3 separate regions of the Homo sapiens genome follow, and regions 2 and 3 are each linked to region 1. The links are contacts of gene promoters, found by promoter capture Hi-C in blood cells and fetal thymus (Javierre and others, 2016). All regions are on one chromosome and are shown on one strand. The core of a region is centred on a gene start or on the middle of the fragment in contact, and the rest is flanking DNA. Distances in the headings are between cores, read along the strand shown. Region 1 holds the start of TMSB10 (thymosin beta 10). Region 2 overlaps TRABD2A (TraB domain containing 2A). Region 3 overlaps DNAH6 (dynein axonemal heavy chain 6).

Region 1 (3,019 bases), core at 271-2,770:
CCAGTTCTAGTGTTGGTTCTTCTAGTTCTGACGTTCCCGTTGCTGTATCCCTAGATCCCGCCTTTGTTTTAAGCTCCCGAAGAAAGGCTTCCGGAGACTTTGTGACCTCACCCAATTTCCAACATTCCAGATTGTCTTTTCTTTCTTTAAAATCAGTGTTCCCTTCTGAGTCAGCTAGGAGGAGGCCAGAGGGAAACAGTGGGGCTTTCGAAGCTTATCAAAAGCAAACCTTGCTCTTTTGAAAAAGCATTTTCCAACGCAACCTGGGGACAAAGTGGGGTTAAATTTTACACAGATTGCTTACGAGCAAGAGTTAAGTGGCTAACAAGTCATGAAATCTTACGGAGAAGCAGGTAAAGCCAAAATTAAAAACTCCCTCCGAGTCAGCCCATTCTGCGACCCACCTCCTCCCCTTTGCGGCAGGAACTCTACTCCATCGAGGGGCTTTGCTGCAGTGGCACTGCCCACGCATACTCAACTAAAAGACTCAGACCACGCCAGCCATGCCACGAGGTGTGTTTTATTTTCATTATTCATACAAATAATTTTCTATAATATCCCGGGGCAAACCGGAGAATTTGGCAGTCCGATTGGGGGGGGGTCCCTTCAGAGACCCACAGGCCGGTGGCATCGGCGCGGAGTGCCCAGGTTCACAGTGCAGCTTGTGGCTCGTGTCCATCTTGCAGGTGGCTCTTCCTCCACATCACGACTGGGGTCTCGAAGAGGACGGGGGTAGGAAATCCTCCAGGATCTTAGGAAATTTCACTCCGCTTCTCCTGCTCAATGGCTGTGGAGAGCGGGAAGCGGGCGCTGGAGGGGAGCTGCAACCCCCACCCGCAACCGAGGTGCTTCCCGGTGTGGGCGAGGCACCCACGAGGTGTGGGGATTTAGAAGGAAGCTTGGGGCTGGGGAGAAACAAGGCGCTTTGTGAAACTGAAAGAGTGGCCGGGGCCGCCCACACCGGGGACAACGGCGGGGTGGGGGGTGGAGGAGTGGGTTTGCAAGGAAGAGCAGGGTGAGGGGCTGGGCTGGGGCGCGGGAGACCGAGGCACACTCACTCTCTTTGGTCGGCAGGGTGTTCTTCTCCTGCGTCTCCGTTTTCTTCAGCTTGGCCTTATCGAAGCTGGCGATTTCCCCCATGTCTGGTTTGTCTGCCATTTTCTTAAAACAATCCTAGTGGGCAAACCAAGGCGCTTGACCTGGGCCTGGGGGCCAGCGTCCCCTTCCGCGCTCCCCGCCGACGCCTCTCGACGTGGCACTCGCGCCAAGGCGTGCCGAGCAGCCCCAAGGCCGAGGATCTGGGCGCGTCCCGCACCCCTCTTCTCGGTCCCAGGGCGTGGTCGCCGGCCCCTGCGTCCGGTCCGAGAAGGGCGCCTGTCGCGGTTGCGGCGCGCCCGCCCGGTGCACCGGATCCGACCACACCCTGGGTGGGCCCCCCGCCCCGGCGCCGCACTCACCGTGCAGTCTCGTTCCGAGCCCGAGATCCTGGTGCTCCCACTCGCGTTGCTGCAGCAAGAAACAAAAGAGCGGCGCCCGCCCCTAGCCTTATATACGCCGCGCCCCGCCCCGCCCCTCACCCGCCGCAGCAGGGGCGGTGCTGGCACCCGAGGGGCGGGAGCAGCGCGGGCTGCTCCTCGCCCTGCCGCGCCCCCCGCTGGGCTACCAGCCCGGCTGGGCGCGGCTTCTCCCGCGCCGGGCACCCCCAGCTCGCAGTGTGCCCAGCGTGGGGGCTGTAGTCGCCGCCAGAGTGGGCGCCAGGCCCCCGGCTTTGCTTTTGCGGCTACATTTCCCCCTTTCCGGGAATCTGCTGCTCACCCCGCAGAAAGGATATGGGACCGGCGTGGGAGGGTGTGTGGTTTTGTGCGTGTGCAGATATGATGTGTAGCCGTGGGTGTGGATGTGCGGGCGTGCACGCGCACTCTGCAGCAATCCTCGCTCTAGGAGACGCCCCACCCCAGTCGCCCCCAGGCCTCTTGCTTTTGCTCCTCCAGAGTCCCCTTCCCTCCCCCACTTTTCCTCTCCTTAGGGAGGCTGAGTCCTAAGGTGGTCCTGCACTAAAAGAATTCGAGCCGAGGGTCCCGTAGTGGAGCGGGGGGCGGGGGGGTGTAGGGGGAGGGGGGAATAGGTTTCCAGCGCTCTTTGCTCAGGTTGGGGGCGGTTGCCTTCTGGTCAGTCGTCCCCTGTTCCCTGAACTGGGCGGTTCCAGCAGGATCGTTGGCGTGGCGGGTGTTCCTTAAATGCTGTTAGACGCATTGTGTGAAGGGCTGTGGTGGGAACAGGGCGTCCCGAGAAGGCTCGCAGTTTGCCTTTTCTCGTCGAGCTCCTAGAAACACTGTATCAGCGGGTGCGGTTTTCCTCCTTGAAGTTAACCTTGAGGATAATAGAGACCCACATGCCTACAAACGTTCTTGTTTTTCTTATTAACCCATTGTAGGAGTGGTATACTGCAATTATTCACATCTTTCTTAGAAAAGTTGTATTTTCAGCCTGTGCAACACCGTTAGGTAATAAGTTCCATAAATTACCAGCCCCGGAGTTAAGGCTGGTCATTCTTTTATTTGTCCTGACCTTTCCTTTTTTAAGTGTGAAGTATTACCGAGCTCTTTAAAGTGGGATTTGGTGGTGACATCCTAAATTCGGTCCTGATTTTATTTATTTACTTTTTTTGAGACAGGGTCTCACTCTGTCACCCAGGCTGGAGTGCAGTGGTGTGATCACGGCTTATGGCAGCCTGGACTTCCCCGGTTCAAGTGATTCTTCCACCTCAGCCTCCTGAGCAGTTGGGACTGCGGGCGTGCACCACCACTAGCGGCAAATCTTTTGTGTTCTTTTTGTAGAGACGAGATTTCACCATGTTGCCCAGGCTGGTCTCGAACTTCTGGGCTCAAGCCATCTGCCTGCCTTAACCTCCCAAAGTGCTGGGATTACAAGCCTGAGCACCACTCCCTGCTTCTCCCCTCCTGATTTTACCTGCTTTTCTCACGTTCCTTCAGTTTGGAACAGTGGGAAGAGAGCATAG
Region 2 (2,869 bases), core at 281-2,780, 65 kb after region 1:
TAATGCACTGGTTTCTGCCCAGTCCTTTACATAATTGGGACCCACTGGTAGGTGTGTCTGTGAGTCCCCAGCCCTCTCGCTGCCCCACCTCCTAGCTTCTATTCCTCACAAGCCAGCTCTTGGGTTCCCTCACCTCTTGGTCACACTCATGGAAGAGTTCCAGGTTGTCTGTGTCCTCCATAAGGCAGTTCCCTAGGTGTGTCTGATTGGGGCTGATTTGGGAAGGACTGTTCTCCTTTTCTTTGGATGCTGTCCAGGGATTTGTGTTCCCTTTTTTAAGTAGCACTATCCACGTCCTTACATAACGAGCACAAAGGTGAAGGTATTTCCAGCCATGGACAAAAGAAATAAGATGGCAGCAAACAGTTGCCTTGTTAGTGAACTTAAAAGAGACCTTTCTTTTAGGTCATCTTTGCTTTGAACCAGACCCTCCTGCAGCAGGAAAGCCTGCGAGCAGGCAGTCTTCAGATCCCCTACACGACGGAGGATCTCATCAAACACTATAACTGCGGGGACCTCAGCTCCGTCATCCTCAGCCATGACAGCTCCCAGGTGAGCACCCTTTCCCCCTGCCAAGCTCAGCACACATTTAATTATAGGAATAAAAACATTACCTGGCAACATGTACATCCTGTGTACAAAGGATTGAGGTCATGAGGGCTCTAGAAATAAAGTGGGCAGATTTAGATGTCATTGAATGAGGCACTACAGCGAATGAAAGCTTTACAAACCTTGTAAGAACAGAGAGGGGCATTGATGAGGGTTAATTCCAGTATTCCAGCCAAAGGATGAAGCTTCAAAGGATTTAACAGTAGGCCACATGAACCAGCCTTGAGGAAGGGAAGGGTTCTGAGTCTGATGGCCTCCTGGCTGACTTAGGTCATACTTTTGCAAAATGATGGGGCAGAACTTTGACTGCAGCTTCAGTGGCCTCTAGGAACATGTGAACATGATATAGCTGTGTATTCACAGAATGCTTACAGGCTTAGGGCATCAGAGCTGGGAAGGCTGCTAGCATTTGCAGACGTGGATCATTGCATCCTGTGGTATTGCAGGATGAGTGTGGCTGAGCTGGTGGATTGAGTGTTTGCCCAGCTCAGGCCTTACCTGTGGGCCATTGAGTGGAAGGAAGTAGCTGCTCAGCCTCAGAAGATCATGGTCTCCTTCCAGGAGGGAAGTGGTACGGATCTTTGTTATGCTTTTATCAACAGGCTTCCCATGGGACAAGCCATGGTGCCTTCGCCTCCTCTCTAGGACTACATGCAAATAGCAAACACCAGCTAAACTTCTGAGGTAGGGGAGTGTGTTGTTTCCCCCACCCAGGACTGGTGTCCACATGCATGAAGACACTGGAGAGGGGAGACAGGAGCTAGTGGGTGTGGGTGATGCTGTACAGGTCTATGTTAAATCTGGGGACCCAACCATAAGGAGACATGTGTGAACATGAGAGCTGAAGGAGGAATAGCAGCAATGGGGAGAAGGACAGTACAGGCTGAGTGCAGCATCAGCCCAGAAAGGTGACATTTCATTAATGACAGAAGCCTCAAAAGATGTAAGGAGCATCCCCAAAAATCTAGAGGAAAAAAAAGTCAAATTGAGACAAAGTGAAGCAGGAGGAAAGGGAGAACAAGAAACACATTAAAGAAGGAAAAATAGAGTTGGTGGTGGTGATAAATCTTACCTGCACTCTTGCTGAGGGTAGGGAAGGGGGGAGAAAAGTCAAGATCAATTGGGAAATTGACATTTGAAGCAGCAGAAAAAAGTTAATGTGGGCGGAGGATTTGGTCATTACGTGGGCAAATGGTGAGGCTGATGGAGCAGATAATACAGATGTCTTATGCATTTTTCTCCTGTGGCTTTCCCATATCTGTTCTGCCCACAGGGCCCCTACAGGAGGTCAGGGAATGTGCTGTCACTGTGAGTGAGGGCCAGGCTGGCCAGCAGGGAGTGGTGCAGGCTTTGGGTGATGTTTGGAATTTAGAAGGTGGAGCAGGATGTCAGAGGGAGGTCACCCTGTGTATCTGACGCTGCCTCTGTAGAGAGGCTGGTAGAGAGGGGGGCTCTGCTGAAGAGAAGAGATTTTGGGAAATGGGCAGGGGATCTTACATAAATGACATGATTAAAAAAAAAGATGACAGAGTAGAAGATGAAGGCTGTCGATTTGAAAATGAAAGAATATCATTTCGAGGCCGTCGCAAAAGGAGATCTGTTATCCATAAGATGGAAGTTAATGCTGTCACAGAGTCTGAGGACTTTGGAAAGCTTTTTGAGAGGCTACTGGAAGCAGCAGCAGCAGGCAGGGTAGATACTGACCAAGATAATGGGTAACATTGTTAAGTCCCTGGGTGGAGGAGAGAGCATGCACCCAGGGGGAGGAGTGGGAGGCTGAGGTTTGGGAAGCCAGACAGCTGAGGGGGTGGGGAGAAAACACAGAGTGCCAGCCTTACCTGTAGCTCCTGGGCTGCAAGAACCACGCTGATTGTCACAATTTTGATGCACTTTCATCCTGTTATTAGCCAAAATACTGAAACTGGCTAACATGTATACCAGAATCAGTGAAATATTTGCCAGGAGGGCAAAGAACATTGGGGAAAGCAAGAGAGAGAAATAGGAAGTGGAGAAATAATGAAAATGTAAAGTAGAGGATTTATAAAACATTTAAGTGTTTATACAAATTTCATGTTTTCGGTAATAGAATCTAAAATATGTAACTATATAAGACTATTTTTATAAGAAAAGCATGTATGAATCACACAAGTTAAAACTATGGATGTACTGTGCAAAGACAGTGTCCTTTTTTTTTTTTTATAAACACACGGCATCAGACAGAGCCATTTAACTAAAACAGAAGTGCAGTTGTAAATAGTGT
Region 3 (2,823 bases), core at 203-2,702, 120 kb after region 1:
GAAGGCTTGTGGGTGAGGGCAGGGGGCCAGGAAGTGAAGGGCTTTTAGGGGAAGGCTGCTAAACCCTGAGCTGGCTCAGTGACCAGAGCAGACTGGGGACTCTGTAAAGGAGCAGCTCTTCACCTTAATAAGCAGCACTAAATAAAGTGATTTGCAAGATCATCTGCAGAGCTTTCACCTTTCCAGAAAGCTTTCTGTAGGGAGGGCACAAATAAAGGCCTCAGAGAAAGGGCTCTCTCTGGATATGCTTGCCTGGAGGTTCTCTCCCAGGGCTTCACAGCAGAGTGGTAGAGTGGGACCCACACAATTTGTTACCAATAAAATAGTTCCTGAGGTTTTGATTATTTTTATAGTAACACTTTAAAATGAGTAGATTCTAATTCCACTTCCTCTCTTTGCAGCCCGTTACACTTTCTTGAGTAGGCAAAAAAGTGGTGAGATAAAACTAGTGCTAGCAACTATGAGTAATGCTGAGCACGCCCATGGGTTAGGTGTGGCTCTGAGGCACATGTAAAGGTTAGTTGCCATGCGGGTTACAGAAGATAAAAGGTGGTAAAACACTACTCTAAGGGAATTGGTGGTAATTTGAACTCTGTTCCTTTACATTTCTCATTTTATAGGGAAGGATTTAATTTCCTTTGTTTGTCCTAAGTATATTTTTCTTTTTATTATGCCTATAAGTAATATATTTCAAATTCAAATGACCTCTCATAGAAGGCAATAAGAAACAGAAATGATCCAGTGGATCCTAGCCTCAACTTGGAATTCTGAAGGCCTTTTATCAAACCCTGGTTGTGTAAATTAGCTAAATCTGTCTAGGCCTCAAATTTCTCCTCTTTCATATATGGAAACACAGTGCCTACAATAATGAATTACTATAAGGAATGAATTCAACAAGAAAAGGTTACATAAAAATGTGATTATTATGCAAGGGCTATATGCTCAACATACCTGGATCTGTGAAGGTTTTAATGAGCTCTTCCATTGCCAACATCCAAGAAACAGCAAGATGGCAATTTTGCAAAAATACCCAGTTTCCTGATTTCATTGCATCCTTGACCATTTTTTCAGCAATAGGTCCTTGTCCTTGCCCCAGTGAAATTGACTGCACCCTGAATTGAACAGCAAGAACACAATATCATCTTATGCTATTTTAAAGCAAAATCAATATGAAGAAATATAAATACAGTAGACTCTTGCTTAGGATATATAAACATTTTGAATCCTCATTCCAATAGGAGTACAAGTATGTTTTCCTTATTTCTTGTTTTTAAAAATATTTTTACCATGACCCACATAGAAAAGTGCAAAAACCGAATATACAGCTCTACAAATGATCACAAATCAATACCTGCGGTTGAGAAGAGACCTGTGCTGATACACTAGAGACATTTCTCTCATGCCTCTCTCCACCGCAATGATTTCCCCTTCCTTCTTCCCACAGGTAATCATTATCCTAACTTCTAACAACACTATAGATCAGTTTTTAAACACTTAAAAAATTAAAGTCTAACATATACAGAAAAATACATATTATTAGTGTATGGGTCAATGAATTCTCACAACGCAAATGTGCACATGTACCACCACCTAGGTCAAAAAACAGTACCCCTCCTTATCCCAAAAGGCAAAAACAATTTTGAATTCTAATGCCATTGATTAATCACACAACATCTGTGAAAGCCAATGTGGGAAACTAGCTACAACTAAGAAACCTGTGCAAAGTGTTGGCTCTCTGAAAGCACCCAGAAACAAAGCCAATGAACTATACACAACATACACCACAGTCAAGCCCTCAAAGGAAAACAGGAATACAAAAAAAAAAGCCTCAACGAAATGACAGAAACTTGAAAATGATAAACACTAGCCCCCTTGGATAATTAGGAATCAGCAAAAGAATTCTGGCAATTCAAAAAATCAGTGTTTCCTTACCTCTAAAAGATTGCAATGTATCTAACCAGATTGAAATGTCTGAAATGACAGACATAGAATTCAGAACCTGGATGGCAATGAAACTCAATGAGATCTAACAGAAAGTTGAAATCCAGTCCAAAGAAGCCAGTAAAATGATCCAAGAGTTGAAAGATGACATAGCTATATGAAGAAAAAACAAAACTGAACTCCTGGAATTGAAAAATTCACCACAGGAGTTTCAAAATACAATTGGAAGCATTAACAACATACTAGGCCAAGTCAAAAAACGAATTTCAGAGCTCAAAGACTGTCCCCTCAAAACAACCCAGTTAGGCAAAAATAAAGAAAAAAGAATTTAAAAAATGGACAAAGGCTATGAGAAATATGAGATTATGCAAATAGATAAAACCTATGCCATACTGGCATTCCTGAGACAGGAGAAAAGGTAAACAACTCGGGTAACATATTTGAGAATATAGTCCATGACAGTTTTCCCAATATTGCTAGGGAGGTTGACATGCAATTTCAAGAAATTCAGAGAAACCCTGGGAGATACTATATAAGATGACCATCCCCAAGACACATAGTCATCAAACTTTCCATGATCAATGTGAAAAAAAAAATTCTTAAAGGCAGCTAGAGGAAAAGGTCAGATCCCTTACAAAGGTCGTCCTATCAGGCTAACAGCAGACTTCTCAGCAAAAACATTACAAGCCAGAAGAGATAACAGAACTATATTCAGCATTCTTAAAGAAAAGAAATTCCAACCAACAATTTCATATCCTGTCAGACTAAGCTTCATAAGCAAAGGAGAAATAAAAGCTTTTCCAGATAAGCAATTGCTAAGGCAATTCTTTACCACTAGACTAGCGTTACAAAAGATTCATAAAAGAGCTCTAAACACGGAAA

The links. The method cuts DNA at HindIII sites, captures the fragments that hold promoters and counts their contacts. A CHiCAGO score of 5 or more calls a contact.
Region 2: a contact is called between a fragment that was not itself captured here and the fragment with the promoter of TMSB10 in region 1, in 1 of 17 cell types (non-activated CD4 T cells). The highest score is 7.5, in non-activated CD4 T cells.
Region 3: a contact is called between a fragment that was not itself captured here and the fragment with the promoter of TMSB10 in region 1, in 3 of 17 cell types (non-activated CD4 T cells, naive CD8 T cells and naive CD4 T cells). The highest score is 9.9, in non-activated CD4 T cells.

The regions. Positions count from the first base shown.
Region 1 is chr2:84,904,157-84,907,175 of GRCh38, reverse strand. It overlaps TMSB10 (thymosin beta 10), which reads right to left and starts at 1,520. Exons shown (of 3, transcript NM_021103.4): 1 at 1,458-1,520; 2 at 1,059-1,173; 3 at 505-787. The coding sequence starts at 1,158. The coding sequence ends at 753. It overlaps LOC105374836 (a long non-coding RNA gene), which reads left to right and starts at 155. Exons shown (of 2, transcript XR_940308.3): 1 at 155-513. RefSeq lists enhancers at 194-253, 58-1,257 and a silencer at 1,224-1,763. The HindIII fragment of the contact is 2,703 bases long and covers 901-3,019 here.
Region 2 is chr2:84,839,544-84,842,412 of GRCh38, reverse strand. TRABD2A (TraB domain containing 2A) reads left to right here. Exons shown (of 7, transcript NM_001277053.2): 3 at 406-552. Among named protein-coding and RNA genes, the nearest start is that of TRABD2A, 40 kb to the left of the region's middle. The HindIII fragment of the contact is 1,468 bases long and covers 797-2,264 here.
Region 3 is chr2:84,779,782-84,782,604 of GRCh38, reverse strand. DNAH6 (dynein axonemal heavy chain 6) reads right to left here. Exons shown (of 77, transcript NM_001370.2): 65 at 952-1,112. Among named protein-coding and RNA genes, the nearest start is that of TRABD2A, 100 kb to the left of the region's middle. The HindIII fragment of the contact is 2,520 bases long and covers 193-2,712 here.